2 separate regions of the Homo sapiens genome follow, and region 2 is linked to region 1. The links are contacts of gene promoters, found by promoter capture Hi-C in blood cells and fetal thymus (Javierre and others, 2016). All regions are on one chromosome and are shown on one strand. The core of a region is centred on a gene start or on the middle of the fragment in contact, and the rest is flanking DNA. Distances in the headings are between cores, read along the strand shown.

What was found. Contacts are between HindIII fragments. The CHiCAGO score rates a contact against its expected background, and 5 or more counts as called.
Region 2: a fragment that was not itself captured here is called in contact with the fragment with the promoter of MCM7 in region 1 in 4 of 17 cell types (total B cells, naive B cells, naive CD8 T cells and 1 more); the score reaches 7.1 in total B cells.

What each region holds. Positions count from the first base shown.
Region 1 is chr7:100,099,589-100,105,826 of GRCh38, forward strand. MCM7 (minichromosome maintenance complex component 7) reads right to left here and starts at 1,809. Exons shown (of 15, transcript NM_005916.5): 1 at 1,676-1,809; 2 at 426-505; 3 at 1-165. The coding sequence starts at 1,706. It overlaps AP4M1 (adaptor related protein complex 4 subunit mu 1), which reads left to right and starts at 2,055. Exons shown (of 15, transcript NM_004722.4): 1 at 2,055-2,184; 2 at 2,292-2,380; 3 at 3,087-3,193; 4 at 3,276-3,372; 5 at 3,821-3,931; 6 at 4,024-4,104; 7 at 4,504-4,566; 8 at 5,286-5,352; 9 at 5,457-5,510; 10 at 5,652-5,758; 11 at 5,857-5,951. The coding sequence starts at 2,127. RefSeq lists enhancers at 1,004-1,163, 1,509-2,061, 2,084-2,133 and a silencer at 1,274-1,373. The HindIII fragment of the contact is 6,263 bases long and covers 1-6,215 here.
Region 2 is chr7:100,436,916-100,443,089 of GRCh38, forward strand. It overlaps PPP1R35-AS1 (PPP1R35 antisense RNA 1), which reads left to right. Exons shown (of 3, transcript NR_187540.1): 1 at 1-245; 2 at 1,466-1,587; 3 at 2,819-2,962. Among named protein-coding and RNA genes, the nearest start is that of PPP1R35-AS1, 3.3 kb to the left of the region's middle. RefSeq lists enhancers at 1-172, 1-21, 173-675. The HindIII fragment of the contact is 6,057 bases long and covers 1,372-6,174 here.

The DNA.
Region 1 (6,238 bases), core at 559-3,058:
TTCCCTCTCCTTGTACTGAGGCAGCAGCTCTTGTACGGCATCAGCAAAGAGCTTCGCGTAGCGCCTGGCATTCTCACAAATTGAGTCCACCAACTCGGGGTCATCCTCGGCTACGTCGTCCAGGTCCACATACAGAGCCACCTGTTCCCGATGAGCCAGCCGAACCTCAAGTGGGGAAGAGACAGAAACACCTCAGAGCCACATTCACTTTGCTCACCAGTGTTCATATGTGAAAATGCATCACTGAGAACTCAGCACAGGCTCTGGGCATCCACAGGGGAGAACGCAGCGCCACACAGAGCGATACTCGCTTTTCAGCCCTCAAACCCTCTAATTGTTATGTCTTTAATAAAACAAGCCAAGCTGCTGCTTATGGCTCCTTAAGCACCCCGCTCCCCATTCCCTTTACCCAATCTTAGACTTACCAACTGGTTCCCATACTTGAACTGCTTCTTCCCGAGTTCATCATCCTGGTAGAACTCTTGTAAGAACTTCTTAACCTTTTCTGTAACATGAAATGTAAAACCGTAAGACACAAACTTTAAGACAAATCTTAGATACCCATTTTCGCTTAAAACACGACCTATGAACTAATTAATAATATGAGCATTTAAATAAACCTACCGAAGTCTCCCCAAAGTGGGCATAACTCTTTTTCACAAGTCTGTTTCTAACCAGCGAAGAATAAAGAGCCCGTGGCAGTGCACAGGGCCATCCAACATCTCCCCAGGGGAATTCCGGTCCCTACTTTAGTTTAAAATTCTAGCGCCCTTCCCCGTTGGCCCCTCACACTCCGGTCTCAAGGTTCTCAGCTTTCTTTCCACCCCTATGATCCCCCGCCTTCTTTGGGTCCCCTTAGCCCCTGATTTCACCGGGACCTCCGCCACCGCACCCCGCCACCGCACCCCACCCCCGCTCCCGCCATCGCTTCCGCTCTTAGTAAACAAAGAAGCACATGGGCCCGGATTCCAGCCGCTTCACAGCTCGGGATTCCTCCGCCCAGGGCGGGAGCCAGTCCAGCCATTGGCCATCACACCCAGAGACACCGCGATCCCAGCCCACTGCCGCCTTTCCCGGGCCCGAGCGAAGCTCCGGATCCCAGGCACGCCCCCCCGGGCCGCAGCTCTCTCCGCGGCCGCCGCGCGGAAGGACACTGTTTACACGACACTCCCTCCAGCCTCCTCGCGCCACTTCCGCCCGGCTCCACTTCCGCTCGGAGGGCGGCCTCAAACGGCCAATCCCGGCGCGCAGCGGCCCCGGCCTGCCCGCCCCCGGGGCCTACGCGCGCCTGGGGAGGGCGCGGGAACCTGGGAATGCCCAAAAGCGCGAAGGAAAGCGGGCACGGGAGCCCAGAGCCCTTAAGACTCTCCTGAGGTCCTGGGCGCGACTTTTCCCTGTGCAGCCCCCAGCCGGGTTAGCGCGCCCCCAAGCCCCCAACCCCACGACCCTAACACCTTTACCAGGTGGGATTACTAGCTTTTCTTCAACATCGATGGCCCCCCGCACGCTTCCCAGGCCCCGTGGGCCTTAGCCAGGCCGCAGCTCGACCCTGCCTCTGGCCTCGCGCACCCCAGAACCCGCCGACCCCGGTCCCCCAAGACCCCAGCTCACACCAACAGGTGTTCCCCGGGAGGCTCCCCGCGCAGGACGCCCTCCCGGGCTCGTAGACCCGTACCCTTCTCTAGCGCGTAGTCCTTCAGTGCCATCGCTGCCGAGGGCCGTGCGGCCGCGCTTGGCGGGCTCAGAGGTCTTGCTCCTGGGGAAGCTGAGAATCTCCGCGCGGTGGACTGTGGCCGGCCAACCGAAATTGGCGCGAAACGTCGCCCCCCACGTGACCGGCGCCACTGCGTGCGGGCCAATCGGACAAGGCGGCCTTCTTCACCTCCCGCTAGCCGCAAGCCAATCACCGTGCGGGCCTAGAATGAGTGACGGGGAGGCGGTGCGGGCGTCGGAAGGGAATCTCCGGGCGGGGTAGTGCAGGCGCCGGGTTTCCCGCGGTCCGAGCTGGCGCGGGCGGAGGAGAATCGCTCTTAAAGGGCCAGCGCACACGCGTTCTTTTGTTCCGGGGCCGCAGGGCGGGGCAGGCCCGACTTTCGCCGTCTTCTTGTCTACTCTCCAGAACGGCCATGATTTCCCAATTCTTCATTCTGTCCTCCAAGGGGGACCCGCTCATCTACAAAGACTGTATCCTAGACCCTTGGGGCTGGGAAGGGGCGGAGGGGCCGGGCGGGAGGGGCGCCCAGGGCCAGCCTGTGTCGCAGGATCCTTCACTGAGTCCTTCCACCCGCCAGTCCGCGGGGACAGTGGCGGCCGGGATGTGGCCGAGCTCTTCTACCGGAAGCTGACGGGACTGCCAGGAGACGAGTCCCCGGTTGTCATGGTAACCAGTGGCGGGAGGCGGGTGAGGAGCGGGGTCCCGTCGGGCCGGGTGGGCGCCAGCTCCCTCCCAGGACTGGTTCATTGGTAGATTCCACTTGGGGGGTGCATTCCGCCAAATAAAGCTAACGTGAGGCCCGGCGCGGTGGCTCACGCCTGTAATCCCAGCACTTTGGGAGACCGAGGCGGGCGGATCACCTGAGGTCAGGAGTTCGAAATCAGCCTGGCCAACATGGTGAAACTCCGCCTCTACTAAAAATACAAAAAAAAAAAAAACATAGCTGGGCGTGGTGGCGGGCGCCTGTAATCCCATCTACTCGGGAAGCTGAGGCTTGAGAATCGCTTGAATCCAAGAGGCAGAGGTTGCAGTGAGCCGAGATCCGGACACCGCACTCCAGCCTGGGAGACAGAGCGAGACTCCCTCTCGGGGTAGGTGGGGGTGGGGAAAAAAAAAAAAAGAGTCAATGGGCGCCAGCAACACACCAGGCCCAGCTCCCTGCGTGACTCCATCCTCAGCAACTCGGGGTAGTTAGTGTAATTAACCCCCTTTCCACATTGGGAAGCTGGGCCCAGGCATATGTCATGTATCTCCCAAAGGCACTGCTGTTGTGACTAGTAAGAGGCATCGGGATCCGAGCTCAGGTCTCCTGGGTTCTGATCACTCCACCTCCCTTTTTTTAACGCCTCTCTTCTCCCTGCCTGTGTCTCAGCATCACCATGGCCGTCATTTCATTCACATCAGACACAGCGGCCTCTATTTGGTGGTCACAACTTCAGAAAACGTTTCTCCCTTCAGCCTCCTAGAACTGCTCTCCAGGTGAGGAGGGTTGGGCTGGGCACCTGGTAGCTAGGAGGGGTCTGAGAGGAGGAGAAAATACACGCTCCAAGTGTTTCCTCAGGTTGGCCACCCTTCTGGGCGATTACTGTGGCTCCCTGGGCGAGGGGACCATCTCCCGCAATGTGGCTCTGGTATACGAACTCCTGGATGAAGTGCTGGTGAGAATCAACAATCCCCTTCTGTGGCCCCTACCCAATTCCCCTGAAGATACATCTGCTCTTCTACTGTGGGATGCCGTGGTTAGGAGGCCAAGTCTACCTTTTTTTTTTTTTTTTTTTTTGCTTTTAGAGACAGGGTCTTGCTCTGTTGCCCAGGCTGGACTGCAGTGGTGCAGTTATAGCTCACTGCAGCCTGGAACTCCTGGGCTCAAGCCGTCCTCCTGCCCCAGCCTCCCCTGTGCCTAGCTAATTGTTTATTTTTTGTAGAGACTAGAGTCTCACTGTGTTGCCCAGGCTGGTCTTGAACTCATGGCCTCAAGCCATTCTCCTACGTCTCGGCCTTCCAAAGCGCTGAGAGTACAGGAGTGAGTCACCATGCCTGGCCCCACTCCCCCTCTTTACCCCTTCCCTCCACTGATCACTCAGACTGTCCTTCCTTTACCACTAGGACTATGGCTATGTACAGACCACATCCACGGAGATGCTGAGGAATTTCATCCAGACGGAAGCTGTGGTCAGCAAGCCCTTCAGCCTCTTTGACCTCAGCAGCGTTGGCTTGGTCAGTAGAGGGAAAGAGGAGGGTGAGGAAAGAGAAGAGGGGTTGGCTGGGGTTGTCAGACCTGATGATTGATTGCTTTGGATGCTTTACAGTTTGGGGCTGAGACACAACAGAGCAAAGTGGCCCCCAGCAGTGCAGCCAGCCGCCCCGTCCTGTCCAGTCGCTCTGACCAGGTGAGGGAAGGATCCATGGGGTCAGACGCTCTGGTTTTGCTCTGGGATCCGGGAGTCCAAGATCTTAGGTCGGGCACAGCGGCTCACGCCTGTAGTCCCAGCACTTTGGGAGGCCGAGGTGGGCAGATCACCTGATGCCAGGAGTTTCAGAGCAGCCTGGCCAACATGGTGAAAACCTGTCTCTACTAAAAATGCAAAAAAAAAAAAAAAAAAAGAAAAAGATCTTGGCACATCTCCCACCCCCCCAGATGTGGGTGGAGGTGGGAGATGATCCCTTCCATCACCCATGTCCTCACCCTAGAGCTGTAGCTTTGACTGTCCTGTTCTTTCTCCCTGTCTGTCCATTTCAGAACATAGGCTATTCTGCTTCCAACCACCCAAATTCTCTCTCTTTCTCAGAGCCAAAAGAATGAAGTTTTTTTGGATGTGGTCGAGAGATTGTCTGTACTGATAGCATCTAATGTAAGTTTGAGCTCCCAAACCTGGAGCTGAGGACAGATGGGACTTGGGAAACATGGTGGGGTGGCTAAGACTCCCAGCAACGGCCGGGCACAGTGGCTCATGCTTGTAATCCCAGTGCTTTGGGAGGCCGAGGTGGGAGAATTACTTGGGGCCAGGAGTTTGAAACCAGCCTGGGCAACATAGCCAGACCCCGTCTCTACAAAAAATACAAATAAACAAATTACCCAGACATGGTAGTGTACACCTGCTGTCCCAGCTACTTGGGAGGCTGAGCCAGGAGGATCACTTGAGCCCAGGAGGTTAAGGCTGCAGTAAGCCAAGATCGAGTCACTGCACGCTAGCCCGGATGACAGAGCAAGACCCTGTCTCTTAAAAAAAATAAATAAGTAAAAAAGGCTGGGCACAGTGGCTCATGCCTGTAATCCCAGCACTTTGAGAGGCCGAGGTGGGTGGATCACTTAAGGTCAGGAGTTTGAGACCAGCCTGGCCAACACAGTGAAACTCCATCTCTACTAAAAATACAAAAATTAGCTACTTATGGTGGCAGGCATCTGTAACCCTAGCTACTTGTGAGGCTGAGGCAGGAGAATGTCTTGAACCTGGGAGGTGGAGGTTGCAGTGAGCCGAGATCACGCCACTGCCAGCCTGGGCGACAGAGCGAGACCGTCTCAAAAAAAGAAAGAAAAAAAGACTCTAACCTTGACGCCCCTGCCTCTCAGGGATCCCTGCTGAAGGTGGATGTGCAGGGAGAGATTCGGCTCAAGAGCTTCCTTCCTAGCGGCTCTGGTGAGGCATCTGCAGGCAGGACCAAGGGTTGGGGTTAGGGCGGGTTCCTTGGTGTCTTAAACCATGGCATTGCTGAGCTCTCCTGATGGTCTCTCCTCCGACAGAGATGCGCATTGGCTTGACGGAAGAGTTTTGTGTGGGGAAGTCAGAGCTGAGAGGTGAGGAGAAAGTGGGTCTTTCTCCCCTTGGAGTAGGTCATTGCCAGAGTTCATGGAGAGAAGTCAGACAGAGCCTCCCCTCTCCTTGCTCCTCTCCCAAAACAGGAGTCAGGAGAGAAGTCTCTCTCTCTCTCTTTCCAGGTTATGGGCCAGGAATCCGGGTCGATGAAGTCTCGTTTCACAGCTCTGTGAATCTGGACGAATTTGAGTCTCATCGAATCCTCCGCTTGCAACCACCTCAGGGCGAGGTCAGGGTTGGGGTGGCCTCATAAATTCCGTCCACCATGGGGAAGGGGGCAGTGGGGTCGTGAGACCAAACTAACCTTGTTGCTCTCTGGTCTCTCAGCTGACTGTGATGCGGTACCAACTCTCCGATGACCTCCCCTCACCGCTCCCCTTCCGGCTCTTCCCCTCTGTGCAGTGGGACCGAGGCTCAGGCCGGTGAGACAATTTCCTGGGTTCTAGAACTACCTTGGAACCCAAGCCAAGACCTGTATGTTCCCAAGACTCACTGCAGAGTGGGGGTGGTGGTAGTGGTGATGGAGTGCAAATTGGAAAAAGGCTTGGGTTGCGGCCGGTGGCTCACACCTGTAATCCTAGCACTTTGGGAGGCTGAGGCGGGAGGATCACTTGAGCCCAGGAGTTCCAGACCAGCCTGGGCAACATAGTGAGACCCCATCTCTCTGAAAAAAAAAAAAAGGAAAAAGCTTTGGCTAATGGAGTTGGGC
Region 2 (6,174 bases), core at 3,150-5,649, 340 kb after region 1:
CTCACTGCAACCTCCGCCTCCCAGGTTCAAGAGATTCTCCTGCCTCAGCCTCCTGAGTAGCTGGGATTACAGGCGCGCGCCATCACGCCCGGCTAATTTTTGTATTTTTAGTAGAGACGGTTTCACCATGTTGGTCAGGCTGGTCTCGAACTCCTGACCTCGTGATCCGCCCACCTCGGCCTCCCAAAGTGCTGGGATTACAGGCATGAGCCACCGCACCTGGCCATAAATGGGGCAGCTTTAAGGTAACGGTCCAGTGTGCCCTGACCTCCCACTCAGACCTGCACAGCATTTCCGGTGTTCCGTTGCCTCCAAACTCGGACCGGAGTTGGCCTGTATGAGTGCGGGCGAGGGTCGCCGACCCCATCCCGGACTCCCTTCTGGGACACAGCAACTCTTGCAGCTTTTTGTGACTACTTTTACCTTCGAGAGTTCCCTGAAATATTAATTTGTATAAAAAGTAGATATCTGGCACGGGTGCGGTAGCGCATACCTGCAATTCCAACTCTGGGAGGCCAAGGCGGGAAGATGTCTTGAAACCCTGAGCTGGAGACAAGCATGGGCAACATACCGAGACTCCACACCACCATTCCCAATCTCTACCAAAAGAATTTAATTTTAGCCGGGCGTGGTGGTGGTGCTCACCTGTAGTCCCAGCTACTGGGAAGGCTGAGGCGGGAGGATCACTTGAGTCCAGGAGTTCCAGGCTGCAATGAGCTCTGATCATACCACTGCGCTCTAGCCTGGGCGACAGAGCAAGACCCTGTCTCAGAAACAAACAAAAAACTCTGTATTGTGGGTTCAATGTTTTATTTTGTTTTTTGAGACGGAGTCTCGCTCTGGTGCCCAGGCTGGAGACTGTGGCACAATCTCAGCTCACTGCAACGTCTGCCTCCAGTGTTCAAGCAATTCTCCCACCTTAGCCTCCCAAGTAGGTGGGATTACAGGCGCCTACCACCACACCCGGCTAATTTTTTTTGTATTTTTAGTAGAGACAGGGTTTCACCGTGTTGGCCTCGAACTCCTGACCTCAAGTGGTTCAGCTGCCTTGGCCTCCCAAAGTGCTATGATTACAGGCAGTAGCCACTGCACCCAGCCTTGAATTCAGTTTTTTTAATTTTTAATGTCAGTGGACTTATCCTGGGCCCTGAGCTTTTCCACATAGCAGAAGACCCCTGAACTGCAGAAAAGGAAATGAGAGCTCCCACCTGCTCCTTAGGTTACTTGGGGCAGGTCCCCTCAATTCTGCAAGTCTCCTTTCATTTTTTGTGTAGAATGTAAGTGGAAGTGGGTTCAGGAATCCTTTCTTACTCTTTTTTTTTTTTTTTTTTTAATTCTCCAAACTGCTTCAAAAAGGTTCAGGAATCTTGAAGCTTTCCTGGAATTGATTGATGCTCAGTCAACAGGCACGTTTGTGTACCACTTTTCATTATGAGTTTCCACATTGTTCATTTTATCTTTCCAGGAAGTGCTGTGGAACATCAGATAGAATGGATAGCACAGCCCAAATTTTACAAAAAGGATTTTAAAGGAAGATCTCAATGGTGGAACACTAGAGGCTTTCCTGCTAAAGTTAAGAACAAGCAAGTATGTCTATTATCTCATTGTTCAATTGTGAAAAGAAATAGCGAGGTACAAATATAAATTTTTAAACTGGGAGTATAAATTAAAAATTTTTAATAGCGACATAGGAGGGAGAGAATAGAATGAAAGACAAACAGTCTTATTCCTCCAAATATACTTTGTTTTGTATATTTGACTTTGGAAATGTATGCATTTTATATGATTATATTAAAAGGTTTTAAAAAATCAGGCCAGGCACAGTGGCTTACACCTGTAATCCCAGCACTTTGGGAAGCCCGGGTGGGTGGATCACTTGAGGTCAGGAGTTCGAGACCAGCCTGGCCAGCATGGTGAAACCCCGTTTCTACTAAAAATATAAAAATTAGCCAGGCGTGGTGGTGCACACCTGTAATCCCAGCTACTTGGGAAGCTGAGGCACAAGAATCGCTTGAACCCAGGAGGCGTATGTTGCAGTGAGCTGAGATCGTGCAACTGGACTCCAGCCTGTGTAACAGAGCAAGACTCTGCCTCAAAAAGTAATAGTAAAATAAAATACAAATACAAAAAAATTAGCCGGGTGTGGTGACAGGTGCCTGTAGTCCCAACTACTTGGGAGACTGAGTAGGCCAGTCACTGGAACTCAGGAGGTGGAGGTTGCAGTGAGCCAAGATTGTGCCACTGCACTCCAGCCTGGGTGACAGAGCTAGACTCTCTGTCTCAAAAAACAAAAAACAAACAAACAAAAAAAACTAATAAATCATGCTGTATTTTACCTTAAATTGAAAAGTATCAAGACTGAGCACAGTGGCTCAAGCCTGTAATCCCAGCACTTTAGGAAGCCGAGGCAGGCAAGTTGCCTGAGCTCAGGAGTTCAAGACCAGCCTGGGCAACATGGCAAAACCTCGTCTCTACTAAAAAGTACAAAAAATTAGCCAGGCATGGTAGCACGTGCCTGTAGTCCCATAGTCCCAGCTACTCAGGAGGCTGAGGCATGAGAATCACTTGAACCCAGGAGGCGGCGGTTGCAGTGAGCCAGGATCTCGCCACTGCACTCCAGCCTGGATGACAGAGTGAGACCCTGTCACAAGAAAAAAAAAAGTTGGGGTTCGGAACAGTATTTGAGGGTACATGGATAAAACAAGATTAGCCAAATGTTGATGACTGCTGAAGCAGGATTTTATTACTATATTTTCTCTACTTTTGCATATTCTTGAACATTTCTGTGACTAAACGTTTTTTGTTTATTTAAAAAAAGAGGCTGACGCAGTTTTGGCATGCAGGAAGTGTTGGAGCTGAGACTCGAAACTGTCCCCCAGGCCTTGGCCATGCTGATAAATATCTAGGCCCTACAGGAGTTCGTGTCCATGAACCCAGTAAACGCAATTCCTCAGCCTTAAAATCTAGTCACTGACTCATTTCAGGCCCCAGCACAGACGAAAACAAGCCATTCTGTTTGCCCAGTTTACATTGCGGGTCTCCAAGAAGTGGAATGTTCACCAATGATTTTAAGAAAACAGGGCCTGGCGCGGTGGCTCACGCCTGTAATCCCAGCACTTTGGGAGGCCGAGGCAGGCAGATCACCTGAGGTTGGGAGTTTGAGATCAGCCTGACCAACATGGAGAAACCCCATTTCTACTAAAAATACAAAATTAGCCGGGTGTGGTGGTGCATGCTTGTAATCCCAGCTACTCAGGAGGCTGAGGCAGAATTGCCTGAAGCTGGGAGGCGGAGGTTGCAGTGAGCCAGAGATCGTGCCATTACATTCCAGCCTGGGCAACAAGAGCAAAACTCTGTCTCAAAATAATAATAATAATAATAATAATTAAAAAAAAAAAAACAGTACGAGTGTGAAGATCGGAAGGTGGAGGTGAGGGAGGTGAGAGGTCTTGGGCCTGCCCACATTCTTCCTAAGCTATTTTGGCTGGCCCAGGCTGGGAGGCCAGGAATTGCTTTTCCTCTTCAAAAGAAAAGGGGACAAAAAATTAGCTGGGCGTGGTAGCACTCATCTGTAGTCCCAGCTACTCAGGAGGCTGAGGCAGAAGAATTGCTTGAACCGGGGAGGCAGAGGTTGCAGTAAGCTGAGATTGTGCTGCTGCCCTCCAGCCTGGGTGACAGAGCGAGACTCGGTCTCAAAAAAAAAAAAAAAAAAAATGGGGAGGAGGACAGGGCATGGTGGTTCATGCCTATAATTCCAGCATTTTGGGAGGCCAAGGCAGGCAGATCACTTGAGGCCAGGAGTTCGAGACCAACCTGGGCAACACAGTGAAACCCTTTCTCTACTAAAACTACAAAAAATTACCTGGGCATGGCAGCACATGCCTGTAATTTCAGCTACTCGGGAGGCTGAGGCATGAGAATCACTTGAACCTGAGAGGGGGAGGTTGCAGTGAGCCAAGATGGCACCACTGCACTCCAGCCTGGGCAACAGCGTGAGACTCTGTCTCAAAAAAAAAAAAAAAAAAAAAAAATGGCTGGGACACCGTGACTCATGCCTGTAATTCCAGCACTTTGGGAGGCAGAGGCAGGAGGATCCCTGTGAGGCCAGGAGTTCAAGACCAGCCTGGGCAACATAGTGAGACCCAGTCTCTATAAAAAAATTAAAAATTAGCCAGGCGTGGTGGTGTATTCCTGTAGTCCCAGGTACCGGGGAGGTTGAGGTGGGAGGATCCCTTGAGCCCAGGACTTCGAGGCTGCAGTGAGCTATGATCACGCCACTGCACTCCAGCCTTGGCGACAGAGCAACACCCATCTCTTAAATATTATTTATTATAAGGCTTTTGGGCTGGGTGCTGTGGCTCACGCCTGTAATCCCAGCACTTTGGGAGGCCGAGGCGGGCGGATCACGAGGTCAGGAGATTAACACCATCCTGGCTAACACGGTGAAACCCTGTCTCTACTAAAAATACAAAAAATTAGCCGGGTGTGGTGGCATGCGCCTCTAGTCCCAGCTACTCAGTAGGCTGAGGCAGGAGTATGGCGTGAACCTGGGAGTCGGAGCTTGCAGTGAGCCGAGATCGCACCACTGCACTCCAGCCTGGGCAACAGAGCGAGACTCCGTCTCAAAAAAAAAAAAAAAAAGACTTTTGATTGGGTTAGACCTCACCAGTTAGAGATGCTCCTTTAGTTATCTGAGGCTGCTGAGTGGGGTAATCCTAGACCTGGATGCTAGTTTGAAGAAAGCAAGTCTCAGTGCTGGAAGGGGTCATTCAAGGTCATCCATGAGCTTCTGCTGAGCCAGGTGCTATAGGTGGGCTAGGTGGGACAGGAGACAGGTCAGCATCCAGGGTCCTTGAAGGGACCATGTCCTTAAGAAGAGGTAGGATGCCTCCAATGCAGTGGTCCACTGCACGGTGTGGCTGAGACTGCTACAGAGGACACATGGGAAGACCTGCCAGGGTTGGGGGTGGGGGAGGAGCAAGGGCGTCATCCTGGAAGTCACCCCCAAATAGGGCCAAGAAAGATCAGAGAGACAGCAAAGCTCTAATACCACCCTCTGCAAACCCCACCTATGGCGACCTCTCACCTCCTGTCTCCTATTCTCAAACTGGCCTATGCCTAAGGGCCAACCCAGAGACACTTCCACACTGGTCCCTGTCACACGAGACACGCTGGAAGATGGGAATGGCCAACCTCCAGACACACACACATCCAGGCTCCTATCCCCAGAGTGCGTGTTCTCATCCTACTGCATCTCGGAGGCTGGCAGGGTGAATCCCCCAGCAGGTCAGGTAGGTCTGAGGTGTCTCAGCCTGAACTCATGACTCCAAACCACCTTCACGCCTTCGTCCCAACCCAGAAGGAAGAGATCCAGGGAGGAGGGCACACATCGGGCTGCAGGCCAACACACTGACCCTGAGCCTGGCCTCCCCAGCATCAGGCTGAGGAACAGGAGGGTTGAGATGAGCCCCATTAGGTATGTGTGAAGTCTCTGGGACATGGGATGATGCCAGCTGCTGGGATGCAGAAAAGTTGGAGGCAGGGGACAGAGTCTCATTCAAAAGAATTTGTCCATAATCCAAGCTGGGTGTTGTGGCTCACGCCTATAATCCCAGCACTTTGGGAGGCCCAAGCAGATGGATCACTTGAGGTCAGGAGTTCAAGACCAGCCTGGCCAACATGCTGAAACCCCGTCTCTACTAAAAATATAAAAATTACCCGTATGTGGTAGCCCAGGCCTGTAATCCCAGTTACTTGGGAGGCTGAGGTGGGAGGATTGCTTGAACCCAGGAGGTGGAGGTTGCAGTGAGCCCAGATCATGCCACTGCACACCAGCCTGGGCAACAAAGCGAGCAAAGCGAGACTCCATTTCAAAAAAAAAAAAAAAAAATTTTAGCTGCGTGTGCTGGCACATGCCTGCAAATCCCAGCTACTCCGGAGGCTGAGGCATGAGAATCACTTGAACCTGGGAGGCAGAGGTTACAGTGAGCCGCCAGCAACTGTATCTCAAATAAATAAATAAATAAATAAGAATTTGTCTGGAATCTGGGTGAGGCAGAGGAAAATGAAAGAAACCAGAAAAGCAAAGATAAACAGATTTGCAGGGTGGGGTGGAGGATGGAGAATTCAATGGAGCTGAGCACAGCAAGGAGGAGAATGTTGGGCTGAAGGCCT